2 separate regions of the Homo sapiens genome follow, and region 1 is linked to region 2. The links are contacts of gene promoters, found by promoter capture Hi-C in human tissues and cell types (Jung and others, 2019). All regions are on one chromosome and are shown on one strand. The core of a region is centred on a gene start or on the middle of the fragment in contact, and the rest is flanking DNA. Distances in the headings are between cores, read along the strand shown.

The links. Contacts are between HindIII fragments. The study calls those that stand out against the background at their distance.
Region 1: a contact is called between a fragment that was not itself captured here and the fragment with the promoter of DUOX2 in region 2, in 1 of the 25 tissues and cell types used here (lymphoblastoid cells).

Annotation. Positions count from the first base shown.
Region 1 is chr15:44,597,092-44,603,881 of GRCh38, forward strand. It overlaps SPG11 (SPG11 vesicle trafficking associated, spatacsin), which reads right to left. Exons shown (of 40, transcript NM_025137.4): 21 at 3,376-3,541; 22 at 1,540-1,745; 23 at 1,174-1,282. Among named protein-coding and RNA genes, the nearest start is that of SPG11, 63 kb to the right of the region's middle. The HindIII fragment of the contact is 5,831 bases long and covers 297-6,127 here.
Region 2 is chr15:45,108,205-45,115,644 of GRCh38, forward strand. DUOX2 (dual oxidase 2) reads right to left here and starts at 5,968. Exons shown (of 34, transcript NM_001363711.2): 1 at 5,769-5,968; 2 at 5,138-5,221; 3 at 4,783-4,872; 4 at 4,350-4,514; 5 at 3,564-3,751; 6 at 3,180-3,381; 7 at 2,907-3,073; 8 at 2,446-2,506; 9 at 2,224-2,320; 10 at 1,686-1,776; 11 at 1,320-1,422; 12 at 585-748; 13 at 1-18. The coding sequence starts at 5,207. It overlaps DUOXA2 (dual oxidase maturation factor 2), which reads left to right and starts at 6,122. Exons shown (of 6, transcript NM_207581.4): 1 at 6,122-6,548. The coding sequence starts at 6,402. RefSeq lists enhancers at 2,536-3,362, 4,205-4,740. The HindIII fragment of the contact is 12,302 bases long and covers 1-7,440 here.

The DNA.
Region 1 (6,790 bases), core at 1,962-4,461, 510 kb before region 2:
CTTTGAAAAAAGTAGATTCTTTTTTTTTTTTTTTTTTTTGAGACAGAGTTTCGCTCTTGTTGCCTAGGCTGGAGTACAATGGTGCGATCTCAGCTCACTGCAACCTCCGCCTCCTGGGTTCAAGCAGTTCTCCTGTCTCAGCCTCCGAGTAGCTGGGATTACAGGCATGTGCCACCACACCCGGCTAATTTTGTATTTTTACTAAAGACGGGGTTTCTCCATGTTGGTCAGGCTGGTCTTGAACTCCCAACCTCAGGTGATCCGTCCGCCTCACATTCCTGAAGTGCTGGGATTACAGGTGTGAGCCACTGTGCCTGGCCAAAAACAGTAGACTTTTTCACCCATAAGGCAGAATAGCTAGCTTAGCATACTGGCACAATTCATTCCTTCCCCAAGTCATCAATCAAGTACCTATTTATACTGGCTGTGTAGCATCCTTAGGAGAACTGAGGAAGTTGTCAGTCAAGAAACTTTCTGAGCACTTATTTCTCTTGCTCTATTCACTTTAGAGTACTCAGAGGCCTGGTGGGTGCCTGGGCCTCCTCACCAGGGGTAGGGTACATGTTCCTGCTGCAAGCAGGATTCTGCCAAGAACAGAATCAGTGATAGGATGTACAGAAAAAGGGTGCGTTCTCAGGGTCTGGAGTGGTTAGGTCAGCCCCAGTGGGGCAGCATAAAGAAGGCATGAAGTGTAAGGAGGTGCTTTTACATACGGTCACTTCAGCTTCCATTATCAACTGACATAATAAAATGAAAAAAGTAAGGACATGACTTAAAGTCAAATTTTGGAAGACCCATCCTACATCATCCTCTTCTTCATTTTTTTCCAATCCTCCAAGACATCTGAACCCACATCTTCTGGCATTTCAACATGTACCATTTAAAAGACTTCTCTGACTAGCAGGGCAGTGGAGGAGACAAAGCTGCTCTCCATCTCTTGGTAAGTCCATCTCTAAAGAGAGAATTGCTATCTTCACCCTCTTTTCACTGATGGCAAGATGCAATTAAAATCATTATTCATTTACTGAGTATCTGCTACATGCTAGATAAAGAAGAAGATAAGGTCTAGGGGGATTTAGTGAAAACACCAGAGTTGTTCAAAGAAAAACTAGGCAAACACAGGTTGGCACAATAAGCTTGTTAGAAAAGAGGCTGAGACTGCAACTCACAAACCTCTTTATTTCCTGTTGCTGAATGCTGTTCCATGTACCTTCTTCTAAGAGAACAAGCAATTCTTCTGTGGTTGTCTTTTCACCATCAGCTAGTTTAGATAGTTTTTCGGCTGTAAGAAATATAAACAACAAAATATGGTGAAGAGAAAAAGTCAAAACCTGAGCATTTCTGTTTGAATAGTGTGGCTCAGGGCCATTTCAGAACCCAATTAAAGTGCCCAAGAAAGTGAGACAAAGAACACACACTCTGCAGGAAAAGGATAAAACCAAGAAGATAACCATTTTCTCCCCAAACACTCACAATTCAATGCCTTAGACCTCGTCACACCTTCTCTAAACAAAGCAGGCCAGATAAAAGGTGCTGTACCTACAGACTCTCTGATAAAGCTGTACTGAGCATCTTCATTTCTGCACTTGTAGCTCAAAATTATATTGGCCACTTTCATATCAACTCTGAGCTTGAGGCTGTCAAGGCCAAGCAATTCTAAGAAACAAACACATGCAGCTCCTATTGAAGGTATGTGGAAGGAGGAGAGCCCTATAACATAGGCTTCATTGCCTACTTGCTGGATCCTGAAAAAGAAAGGAATCAAAATCACATCAGCACATGAAAATTATGTCTCACCAGGAAAAGCAAATGGAATTAAATCAGTGACAGAGGGAGTGCCAGCCATGTGATTTGTGGCCTCCTCTCCCTTACCTTTTGCCCCTTGCACATACCCGTTTAGGTTCCTGGTAGCTTTTCAGTTGTCTTTTGGCCCAAGAGCCCCCCGCTTCCCTTAAGCTGACTTTCTAAAACGCTTAGTCATAGTCTAAACTATTCTTGCTTCCAACTTCATCAAGACATGAAGTACAACTTCTGAAAGACTGCCAACTTGTGATCTTATCAATTATGAGTACGTATACAAACTACGAAGAATATCAATGCCACTTAAATGTAAGTTTGACATCATGAAGCACATTTAAAAAAACTCATATAGGCCTTTTATAGGAATAGAAAATTTGGGAAAGACACAAGAAATTACTATTTTTTATTTTTATTATTATTTTTTTGAGATGGAGTCTCGTTTTGTAGCCCAGACTGGAGTGCAGTGGTGTGATTCTTGGCTCACTTCAACCTCTGCCTCCCGGGTTCAAGCGATTCTCCTGCCTCAGCCTCCTGAGTAGCTGGGACTACAGGCACCCACCACCATGCCTGGCTAATTTTTGTATTTTTAGTAGAGACAGGGTTTCACCATATTGGCCAGGCTGGTCTCAAACTCCTGAGGTTGTGATCCGCCCACCTTGGCCTCCCAAAATGCTGGGATTACAGGTGTGAGCCATCGTGCTCAGCCCACACAAGACATTATTAACCATGTTTTTACCATGTGGAATGGGAAGCTGAGGGCTATCTTTCATTTTCACCTTTCTGAACTACTTGAATACTTTACCATAAAAAAGGTATTACTTTGTTAATTATAAAACAAACCAATAAAGTAAATCTATATTTAGCTGTTCATTATAGTAAATGCTCCTCTCAATTCTGTGCCTTATAAAAATGAATAATTGAATTATTAAAGACATTAAATATAGAATTCACATCTCATCATATAATTCCCTTTTTTTAAAGTTCTGGGATACATGTGCAGAACATGCAGGTTACATAGGTATACATGTGCCATGGCAGTTTGTGGCACCTATCAACCCGTCATCTAGGTTTTAAGCCCCGCATGCATTAGGTATTTGTCCTAACGTTCTCCCTCCCTTAGAATTCCCTCTTTAACTGCTAATATTTGACAAACTCCTGTATGATTTTAAATTTTATTATTTTTCAAAACATATTTATGTTTTTTCCAATTAACAAAAATCACACACACTAAATGCCAAAAACTTAGGACACACAGGGAAGCACAAATGAAAACAACAATAATCACCATCCAAATGTAATCACTGTTAACTGTGGTATGTTTCCAGTATGTTTTTCAATGTACATGTAAAACATTATACAGATATGCCCTTTTTTAGAATACAAATTATATTTTATTTTACTTTTTTTGTTTTAGTGGCAGAGCCTCACTGTCACCCAGGCTAGAGTGCAGTGGCATGACCATAGCTCACTGCTTCCTTGAACTCCTGGGCTCAAGTGATCCTCCTGCTTCCCAAAGTGCTGGGATTACAGGTGTGAACCACTGTACCCAGACAAAATTATATTTTAAATACTCACAGCTGCTTGGGAGTCTTGCTCTTGATTAATTCCTGGACCAGAAAAGTACCAAATGCAAATGATGGCCGCCCATTATGTAAATAATAAGCAAAATTCAGACGTTCCACTATAGCATATTTATTAACCAGGTCAGGGCTAGAGAAATGTGGGAGATGACTCCATGCATCTAGGGGGAAAGTAAAACAATATTAATTATCTGTATATCACCATAATTAATTTCAGATTTGCACATGGAACTCTCTAATGATAAAACTGGTTGCTGTAATTATTTTGCATCACTACGTATCACTTTGAATCTACCAAAATCTGATTTATTTTACTTCAGTGTATAGAGGTAGCCTTCATTTTATACAAAGATGTGTACCTGAGAAGTTGCATAAAAACTCTGGTAAGAAATGATGCTTCAGCCGGGTACGGTGGCTCACGCCTGTAATCCCAGCACTTTGGGAGACTAAGGCAGGCGGATGACCTGAGGTCAAGAGTTGAGACCAGCCTGACCAAGTTGGAGAAACCCCGTCTCTACTAAAAATACAAAATTAGCCAGATGTGGCGGTGCATGCCTGTAATCCCAGCTACTTGGGAGACTGAGGCAGGAGAATCACTTGAACCTGGGAGGCAGAGGTTGTGGTGAGCCAAGATCGCGCCATTGCACTCCAGCCTGGGCAACAAGAGTGAAACTTCATTTCAAAAAAACAAAAAAAAGTGTGAGATTCCTGGTCTTGACACCACTAGCTGCGTGACCTTGAGCAACTTATTTAAGAATTGTATATATTTAAAGTATACAACATAATTGATTTTTTATTTTTTTTTTTAAGACAGGGTCTGGCTCTGTCGCCCAGACTGGAGTGCAGTGGCATAATCTTGGCTCACTGCAATCTCCACTTCCTGGGCTCAGGTGATCCTCCCACTTCAGCCTCCCAAGTAGCTGGGACCACAGGTGCATGCCACCACACCCAGCTTTCTTTAGTATTTTTGGTAGAGATGAGATTTCACCATGTTGCCCAGGCTGGTCTCAAAATCCTGAGCTCAAGCAATCCACCTGCCTTGGCCTCCCAGAGTGCTAGGATTACATGCGTGCGCCCAGCCTCTTCTTTTTTTTTTTTTTTTTTTAAATAGAATCTTGCTCGGCTGTCTAGGCTGGAGTGCCATGGCACAATCTCAGCTCACTGCAACTTCCGCCTCCTGGGTTCAAGTGATTCTCCTGCCTTAGCCTCCTAAGTAGCTAGGACTTAGAGGCACGTGCCACCACACCTAGCTAATTTTTGTACTTACAGTAGAGACGGGGTTTCGCCATGTTGGCCAGGCTGGTCTCGAACTCCTGGCCTCGGGTGATCTGCCCACCTTGACCTCCCAAAGTGCTGCGATTACAGGCATGAGCGTGAGCCACTGTGTCCAGCCAGCCACCGCGCCCAGCCCACCCAGCCTCTTTCACCAATGTTTGATAGTTTAATATGTACAGATCTTTGACCTCTTTGATTAAATTTATTCCGAAGTATTTTGTGTTCTATTAAAAAATAGAAATGGGATAGTTTTGTTCATTATCTTTTTCAGACAGTTTGCTGTTGGTATATAGAAACACTGATTTTTGTATGTTGATTTAATATCCTGCAACTTTCTTAGATTTGTTTATTAGTTCTAACAGTTTTACTGGTAGAGTCTTTAGGATTTTCTATATACAAAATCATGCCATCTGCAAACAATGACAACTTCACTTCTTTCTTTCTGATTTGGATGCCTTTCTTTTTTTTTGCTTAAATGCTCTGGCTAGGACTTCAACTACTATGTTGAACAGAAGTGGCAAGGGTGGGCATCCTTGTCTTATTTCTGATCTTAGAGGAAAAGCTTTCAACTTTTCACTGCTGAGTATATTAGCTGTGAGACTGTCATACATGGCCTTTATAATGTTGAGATGCATTCCTTCTATGCCTAATTTGTTGAGAGTTTTTATTATGAAAGGATGTTGAATTTTCCTAAATGCTTTTTCTGCATCTATTGATATGATCATATGGTTTTTGTCTTTTTTTTTTTTTGAGATGGAGTCTTGCTCTGTTGCCCAGGCTGGAGTGCAATAGCGTGATCTTGGCTCACTGCAAGTTCCGCCTCCCGTATTCACGCCATTCTCCTGCCTCAGCCTCCCAAGTAGGTGGGACTACAGGCGCCTGCCACAATACCTGGCTAATTTTTTTTTGTATTTTTTAGTAGAGACAGGGTTTCACCGTGTTAGCCAGGATGGTCTCTATCTCCTGACCTCGTGATCTACCCACCTCGGCCTCCCAAAGTGCTGGGATTATAGGCATGAGTCACCATGCCTGGCCTGGTTTTTGTCTTTCATTCTGTTAATGTGGTGTATCATTTATTAATTTGTGTATGTTGAACCATCCTGGTTTTAATTCTGTATTTGATGATCCTTTAAGTTCAGAAAGGCAATAGCCAATAACCCTATAGTTGTAAAGTCTTTAAATAACTGCAAAAGGAGCTTTTAAATTCATTCACAAAAGGTCATTATGCAATAAAATCCCTTTTAACATATTTATATGAGTCCTCTGTTCACCAAAGCCAACTCACTGTACCTTTCTCCAACAGGCAATTTTTTTTTTTTTTTTTTTTGGACACAGGGTCTTGCTGTTGCCCAGGCTGGAGTGCAGTGGCATGACCATAGCTCACTGCAGCCTTGACTTCCTTAACTCAAGCAATCCTCTTGCCTCAGCCTCCTGTAGCACTGTAGGCACACACAACTATGCCTGGCTAATTTTAACATTTTTCTTTCACCTTCTTGACCCTTATCTTCTATACCCGGCTAATTTTTTGTAGAGACAGTGTCTTGCTATGTTGTCCAAGCTGGTCTTGAATTCCTCGCCTCAAGCAATCCTTCCACCTCAGCTTCCTGAGTGTTAGGATTACAGGCATGAGCCACTGCACCTGGCCTCCAACAGGTAATTTTAGAACATTTTTCCCTCTACACTAATTACCCTCCTATAACCTCCATTTGTTATCACTTACTTTCTGATGTTGTATTCATAGAGCATGAATATCTTAGAAAGATGGCACCATCCTTCTATTAATAAGACCAGCAGAATAGCTCAGTTTAAAGTTCCTCTAAACCCAAGAAAATATCAAACAAAAATGTCTTTTTTTAGATAAATTTGAAGTCAGAAGATATTTTGATATGAGTCTAGTCATCTCTTGGTATCCATGGGGGATTGGTTCCTGAAACCCTTGGATACCAAAATCCACAGAAGGATGCTCAAGTCCCTGTAAAATAGCATAGTATTTATATATAGCCTATGCACATTTCCCCATACACTTTAGATTACTCTAGATCACTTATAATACCCAATAAATGTAAATGCCATGTAGATAGTTGTTATACTGTATTTTTAAATTGGTATTATTTTTAATTGTTCTATTGTTTTTC
Region 2 (7,440 bases), core at 4,718-7,217:
AGCTGTGGCCTCCAGCACCTGGGGCACCACAGGAGATAAGGGGTGAGCGTATGTTTGCTGCGGAGGGCAGCCACTGTTGCCCCATCCCTCGGGCACAGAACCTCAGCCGCTGCCTGGCTGCTGCTCAGGCCTGATTTCCTCTTCTTAGGCAAGCCCCCTCAGGCAGGACAAGTCTGGTGGAAGGATCAGTGTGTCCCTACCCACGGTAACACCACGGTCAGGTGCCCTAGGACCATATCCTGTGACCATCACCAGCCTGCCTGACCTCAATGATTAGCAGCTTCAGGGGCACACAGCCCTTGGGGTGGGACCCTGCAGCAACAGGACAATGGCACCCAACCCAGAAGCCACCCTGCAGGAATGGTACAATGCAGTGGTTAGGAATATATTCTGGAATCAGATGGCTGAATTTAAGTCCCTCCTCTATGATTTACCAACTATGTCATCAGTAAAATGGGGAAAATGATTATACATACCTTACAATATTATTATGTAGATTAAATGAGTCAACATATGTAAAGGGTTTGGAACAGTATTGCCATAGGAAAGCTTTAGCTGCCATTATTATCATTACTATTCCTGACCTGGGGGTCCACATTAGGGTTGAGATCACTCCAGTTCCTTGGGATGTCCAGCCCAAAGGCCAGCAGGGCCTGGCTATAGCTGGGCAGCCCCATATCTCGGCCACGTTGGATGCTGCTGGCCACATAGTCTGTACGGGAGAATTTGCCAGGGCCAGGCCAGTAATCTGAAGAGGAGAGAAGACTAGACTATGGGCTTTGTCCTCTCCATCCTTTTTTGCCCTGCAGCCTTGTATCTGACTATTGGCACTACGGTTCTTCCCTCCTGGCTACCCCCAGTGATCCACATGAGATCTGTGCCCATGCTGACCTTGCCTTGCTGCAAGGCCAATGTCACCATGGGTGATCAGAGCCAGTTTTTCCAGTAAGACCCTTCCTCTAAGACTCAAGACTGTTCTAGTCACCAAGCAGTAAATTCCCTGTCCTATGCCTCCCTAGTTTCAAGACAGGGCTGAATGAAAACCTTTAGAGACCTAATTAAGCACCAAAGAGATTGTGGTACCACCCCTCCCCAATACTCAGACATAGTTAATTTAAAATAAAAGCAACACAAAAGTGTAAATTAAGCAAAAAAAAAAAAAAAGTTCAAAGTTCATTTTCTTCTTATGGCTCCTTGAAGTCTGTGTTTGTATCTGTGTTCCTGCATCGTGAGCGCCCTAGGTCTGCTATTGATGAACCCAGAGGGATCCTCAGGCTTCCTGGTCCCTTACCATCCACCCCTTCTGGCTCTGAGCTCACCCCTCAGATCTTCAACCACTATGTTGTCCTCCAACTCCGAAATCTGGGAGGCCATTCCCAGCAGCAGCTCATTCACCTCCTGGGTACTGTTCAGATTGGGGTTCTGGAAGTAAACAATGCACTCAAGATAGGCCTCTACCCAAAACTCGGTCTCTCTCAGCCTGGACCACTTTAGTACCCCAGGACAAAGGGCCCTTGGCCAGTCCCAGACTCTCTTGAACTGTTGTCCCCGGATAATTTCCTCTACCCTTCATCTCCCATGAACCTGGGGCAGCAACACTCAAGAACTGGGATTGTTGCTTTTCCCAGCCTGTGTGAAGAGACTGACCTTGACCCATCTTCCCCTGACCCTGACCCCAGTCTGACCTCCCGAATCCAGTAGTTGTTGCAGACCCTGAGAGCTTGGGAGCTTTGAAAACCCTTGTTCAGGACCTTCCGGAAATGACAGCTGGCATTTCTGAAATTGAGAACAAAGGATGTGGTGAGGGAATTTGGAGAAGAATCAAAGATGGGGTTGAGTGGGCTGAGGGACTCAGTGGGGGTTCACTAGGATTGAGCAGTGGCCCAGGAACTTCCTTGAACACGGCAGAGATTTGGTGATGTGCGTTTACTGAAGATAGAGTGCGCTCCTAGTCCAGGTAGGGTGGGGAGAGGAGGGAAGGGAATGACCCAGCTGCTAGACAAATCCTACACCCAGCCACCAAATTTCAGCCCTTAGGAGAGCTGGAGAGATTTCCCTACTAAGCCTACACATCTTACCCCAGGGTTCTGTTTCAGGGCCCCAAATTTTTGCTTCCCCTTCTCTAGTGAAACTGCGAAGGAGTGTGAAAGGCCCCAGCCCCCAAGGCAGCTCATTCTGCACCTTTCTTAGTGTGGTGCCCCTCTCTGCCAACCCCTCCCTCACCTCATGTAGACACCAGGGGGCACCATGGTAGAGAAGAACTGCTCAGAGGCCACCACAAATTCCGGGGAGATGCTGGGGTCTAGGAAAGGACGGTATCCTGCAGGAAGGAGACGGTGATGATGGGGAGACAGGCTTCTTGCCTCCACATCCTCCCATCACAGGCACCTGTCTCCTTCCCCTCAGGATTCTCCGCACAGGTGTCCTCCTTCCCCGCTCCCTCACCTGTATACTCCGGGAGTGTTTTCTGCAGGAAGCTGGGCAGCCACTCATACACAGCGATGTTCTGAGGGGCAGAGAGGGGCGAGGGGAGGCACAAGTTGGATGGTGTGGGGCCTGGAAGGGTCTGAGCCCAAGGACGGCTTCCGTGTGGAGATGAGACCAGGAAGGGTCAATCATGGGAGAAGCAACTCAGACAGGAGCAGTGTGAGGCCTGTCCCCACAAGGAACCAGGGGATTTGAGGGAGTGGGGGTTGGGGAGGTGATAAATAATCATCACCAGCCAGATTTCTCCTATAAACAGCGCGTGCCTCCCTATCATTTACAGGGGCTTCCCTAGACCTCGGCTGTCTGGGGAGGGGTTTCTGGGTGGCGGTTGTCCACAGATGGGGAGCTCCATGGGGCAGCGGAGTCTCCCGTGGGCTTGCACGCGGAAGGGAGGACGTCGCGGGGCGCGGACGGCTGACCTGGTAGGTGGCGATGACCCTCTTGCGTGCGTGCTGGAACAGCTCCTCGTCCTCCCAGTCTGGGTGCTGGCGGGCCAGCCTCTGCGCCCACAGGTTGTGGTAGCGGAACCAGAGCAGGCCCAGCGCCTGCAGGAAGGGTTCCCGGTTCCCTCTCTCTGCCCCGAAGGCTGCATCCGACGTGGGGGCGCAGGGGAGGAGACGAGCGGTAGCGTGATCGGGGGAGCCCACACTCGCAGACCCCCAGCCGGCCCCGTCCCGCCCCTGTGGCCTCACCGTACAGCCCCCGGGGCCCGTTCTGCCCGGTGGCGGGGTCGGGCGCCGCCCACATGAGCAGGGGGTTCTGCGAGTCTCGGGGGAAAGCGGGGTCGGGCCCCGACGCCAGCTGTCCCCCCGAGAAGCTCCGCAGCGCGTCGCTCCAGGAGTGCGAGGAGCCATAGATGGCGCTGCCGTCCAGCCAGCCCGTCACCTGGTTGGCCTGCGGGGCACGCGGCGGGTGAGCCCGGGTCGAGAGGCGGCGGCGGGCCAGGGAAGGCCGGGGCCCGGCGGGTGTCCGCGGCTGGGGAGTGGGCGCCTCTCCCCTCCAGGCCCTGCCAGGCCCGAAGCCCAGGCCCCACCTGGCTGGGGTGCGGTCCCTTCCCGCCGCCTTCCCCGCCTCACCAGGTCCCGGGGGTTGCTGGGACTCCGTCCGGTCTCGGGGTCCCAGCGGCTCCTCTGGAAGGGCAGCACCACGTCCCCGCGCTGGTCGGGGTCGAACACGGGGTCTCCAGGTGGGATGCGGATGTTGAGGAACTCGGCGGGGCAACCGGGCGTTTCCACGCTCACCACGTCGGAAAGAACATGGTAGCCTGCGGGCATGGGGCGCCAATACGTGACAAACCGTCCGTATTGCGCCCTCCCCACGGCCAGGGCGGCCTCCAAGTGTCCTCAGGAGCCAAAAGACAGAGGTCCCAGTGCCAGCTCCGCCACCAGCTCTGCACGTTAGCCCCAGGTAGCCTCAATTTTCTAATCTGCAAAGTAAGACTATAGTGAGTTCCCTTCCTACTCAATTCATAAAGCTGTTGTGAGAATCAAAATGATATAATTTATGTAGGGGTACCCCAAGTCAGTCCTCCTCCCTCTGGGCTAGGGGGAGGTAAAATGGTTACAAACACACGGTGAGGAGAGCGGTGGCTGGGGAGCTCAGTTCCCAAGAGCTATAATGGGGGTCCAGTGACACCCCTAGGTTGGAATAAGGCGTAAGAGAAAGGTTAGATACAGAGCAAATATCTCTGTATCAACATCCCAAAATCTCTCCGAGATGAAGGCAGTCTCGAAGTGCTGCGTAGAGAGGAAGTGGTTGGGAGTCGGATGGGTCTCCTGTGGACTCGCAGACGGGATCTGGCCCCTCCCCCAGGCTGAGCAGAGCGCCAGATCAACCCCACTGGTCTCCCCCTTTGCCCTCACCAAAGAAGACCCCCAGTACGGTGCGGTTGTGGAGCGACGGCAGGCCGGCTATGCCCCGCGTGGCTGCGTTGCTGAGCCGGCGCGGGTTGGGCAGCTGCGGCTCCTCCAGAGCCTGATACACACCGTCGGCGTAATTGGCTGGTACGCGGCGCTGCAACCGGCAGCCTGCGGAGGCAGGGAGCGGGGCTCTGTCTAAGCACTCCATCCCCTAGGATCCCCCAAACCTCTCCCTAAGCCTCCCTCAACCCCCATCCCACTTCACTGACAGAACCTTCCCTCAAGGGTCTCTTGGCCCCGGGAGCGCATAAGATTGCGCTGTGTAGGCAGCGGAGCTGCTGGGCGCGTGTTCCCCGCAGATTCCCCGCTCAGGGCCTTTCGCGCCCCGGCCCTTCGCGAGCCACGGCCCCAGCACGCCCGGGCCCCCAGAACGCACCAACAGCACCACGCTCGTGGTGCCTCAGGTTGTTAAACCAGCCGTCATAGCGCTGCACTTCCCAGGGCAGTGAGAGTGCGTCCTGACTGCCTGTGGGCACAGAGAAGGGCCTCCTCAGCACTACGCTCCCAGCTACCCCTCCCGAGCAACGAAGGCCTTGGCCAGTCCTTCCCCAGCTCGCGGAGCGCCCCTAACCGGACCCAAGTGTCGGGCCGCACTGGGAAGTTTCCCATCCCGCTGAGCTGCACGGCGAAATGACCTTCCAGTCTCAGGGAGCCGCTTGCCGCACCTCTCCCCGCCCCACCTCCCAGGGATCCTGGGGAACACCCCGCCGCTAGAGGAGCCTGATACTTGCCCGATGGACCCAGGGATCCAGTCAGAAGAGCTCCCAGGAGCATCAGTGCCTCTGGTCTTGCACGGAGCATGCCAACCCTGCAGCCTGCGGGGTGAGGGTGGGGGTGGTAGGTGGTATGCGAAAGCCACTGTTAGGGCGTCCTCTATGCCTCCCCTCTTGTTCCTACAGCTAGTACTGGAGGAGGAGCACCAGCTGTTTCCACTTCTGGAAGGTAGCTGTTAGAAGCATCACCGAGGACCTTCATCCAAACGCCACTCTTTCCAGGACAATTGGCAGCTCTGGAGGCATTGACACTGTTCCCCATCCGCCACCCCATCAGAGAGTTAACCCCCGACCATAGGAACCCACTGGGCAGGAGTCTTCTGGGGCATGTCAGTCCAGGGCAGGACTGGTCAAGCCTCCCAGGGTGTGCCCAATGTCTCCAATGTTTCACCTCCACCCGCCCCCGATCCGTCAGGCTCCGCTTCTCCTCCAGGAGGCAGGGAAGGGAAAAAGGTTACTGACCTGGGAGTGAGGGACTGCAGCACCCTTCCACAATGAATCCCCCCTTCCCCAATAAACTCCCCTTCTGCAATGAACGCCTGTGCATGATGGGCGAGGGCTAGGGTCAGATCCCAAACTCTGGTCTAACCTGTGGTTTAGGGTGGTGTTGGGTTCAGATGTCTTCTTTCCTCTTAAAATCTTTGCTTCTGTGCTCTACTTCTTGCCTTCACCCTCACTCTTCCAGCTCCGCCGATCCTCAGCCTCCCCGGCTGCACTCTCACCTTTCTCTCTGGGTCCTTGGTCTCGCCACTGTGCAGGTGTCGGCTCAGGACAGACCTGCGCCAGTGTGAGCATCTGGACCTAGGGCTCACCCTCCTGCCGTGGAGGTGGGGCCCTTATTTGCACAACCTCTTCCAGCTCAGACCAGCCCCTGGGCTGGGACACCCGTGTGGCACGTCGCCCACGCTGCTATAAAAGGGGTCCCGCGCGACTTCCAAACTCAGCGCCAACCCGCAGAACCAGGAAAGTAACGGCTACAGACAGTGAGAAATAGTTTCGCTCGCCGGCTAGAAAAACTCTGTCGGTACCAACCCCAGAGCGTTGAGAGCAGCCCACCTCCACGCTTCCTTAACGGAGAGGTGCAGGACTCAGACTTCACCAGCCCACTCGGTCCCAGCCTTGTACGCAAAGAGACGCCAAGGACGCGCTCTCCCGCGTCCAGGCAGCCCCAGCTTGCTGGCTTGCCTGCCCGCCTGCGTGCAGCACTCGGCCGGCGTGCAGCATGACCCTGTGGAACGGCGTACTGCCTTTTTACCCCCAGCCCCGGCATGCCGCAGGCTTCAGCGTTCCACTGCTCATCGTTATTCTAGTGTTTTTGGCTCTAGCAGCAAGCTTCCTGCTCATCTTGCCGGGGATCCGTGGCCACTCGGTAAGGGTGTCCTCATAGTGCAGGTAGAGTGGGGGAAGGCTCATGGGCAGATTGTCTCCTGAGGGACCCAGGACAGGTAAGACTGTACAAGAGCCTCCATGAATAGTCGAATTGAGGCTCAGGTGGAGTGAAGTCAGGAGTCTGGTGCAGCAAGCACCCCTTTCCAAGGATAGGGAGAGCTCCCCATCCAGGATATCCTGGAGAAGGACCCCAGCTGGGTCCTTGGGAAGGCTGCTGCAGAGAATGGGCACCCAGTCCAGTAATCCTGAGGAACAGTCTAGGCTTCTTGTGCTGGAGGGCCTCCCACCTCTCCCAGGACTAAAGCTGCACTCTCATCCCATCCGGTGGGTGATGACCTTCAGGCCAAAAGGACAGATGCCAGCAGCTCAGACTGCAGTGTTCCCCTTTGCACTGGGTTGAGACACATGTGTATGGGTGCCTCATCCTCAGGACTGAGACTCCCACATTGGATTAGAAGTTGGAGCCAACTGGGTGCATTGTCTTAGACTTTCCCCCTCTCCCAGAACCTAGGTTGTGCATTTTTCAGTTCTGGGAGGACCCAGCTTTTCTGCATCTTAATCTGTGTTGCTTTCCCTGGAACTGGTGCACCTAGGAGTATCTGCATTCCCACCTCCTCCCCTCGGAGATCAGGCTGGGGCCTCCCTCTTCTGAGGGAGGTGACCCCTGCGTGCCTAGCACTTCTGGACTCACTGAGCCTCACCAAGCAGTGACTGGACCAGGAGGCAGAACCAGGACCAGGCGCCAGACAGCTAGGGGAGTGAAGGTGGTGGAAGAGTGCCAGGAAGTGGGGGTGGAGGGGAGGTGCTGTTAGGGTAGATGGGAAATGGGGCTAGGGAGGTGAAAGTGCGTGGTCACAAAATATCAGAAATGC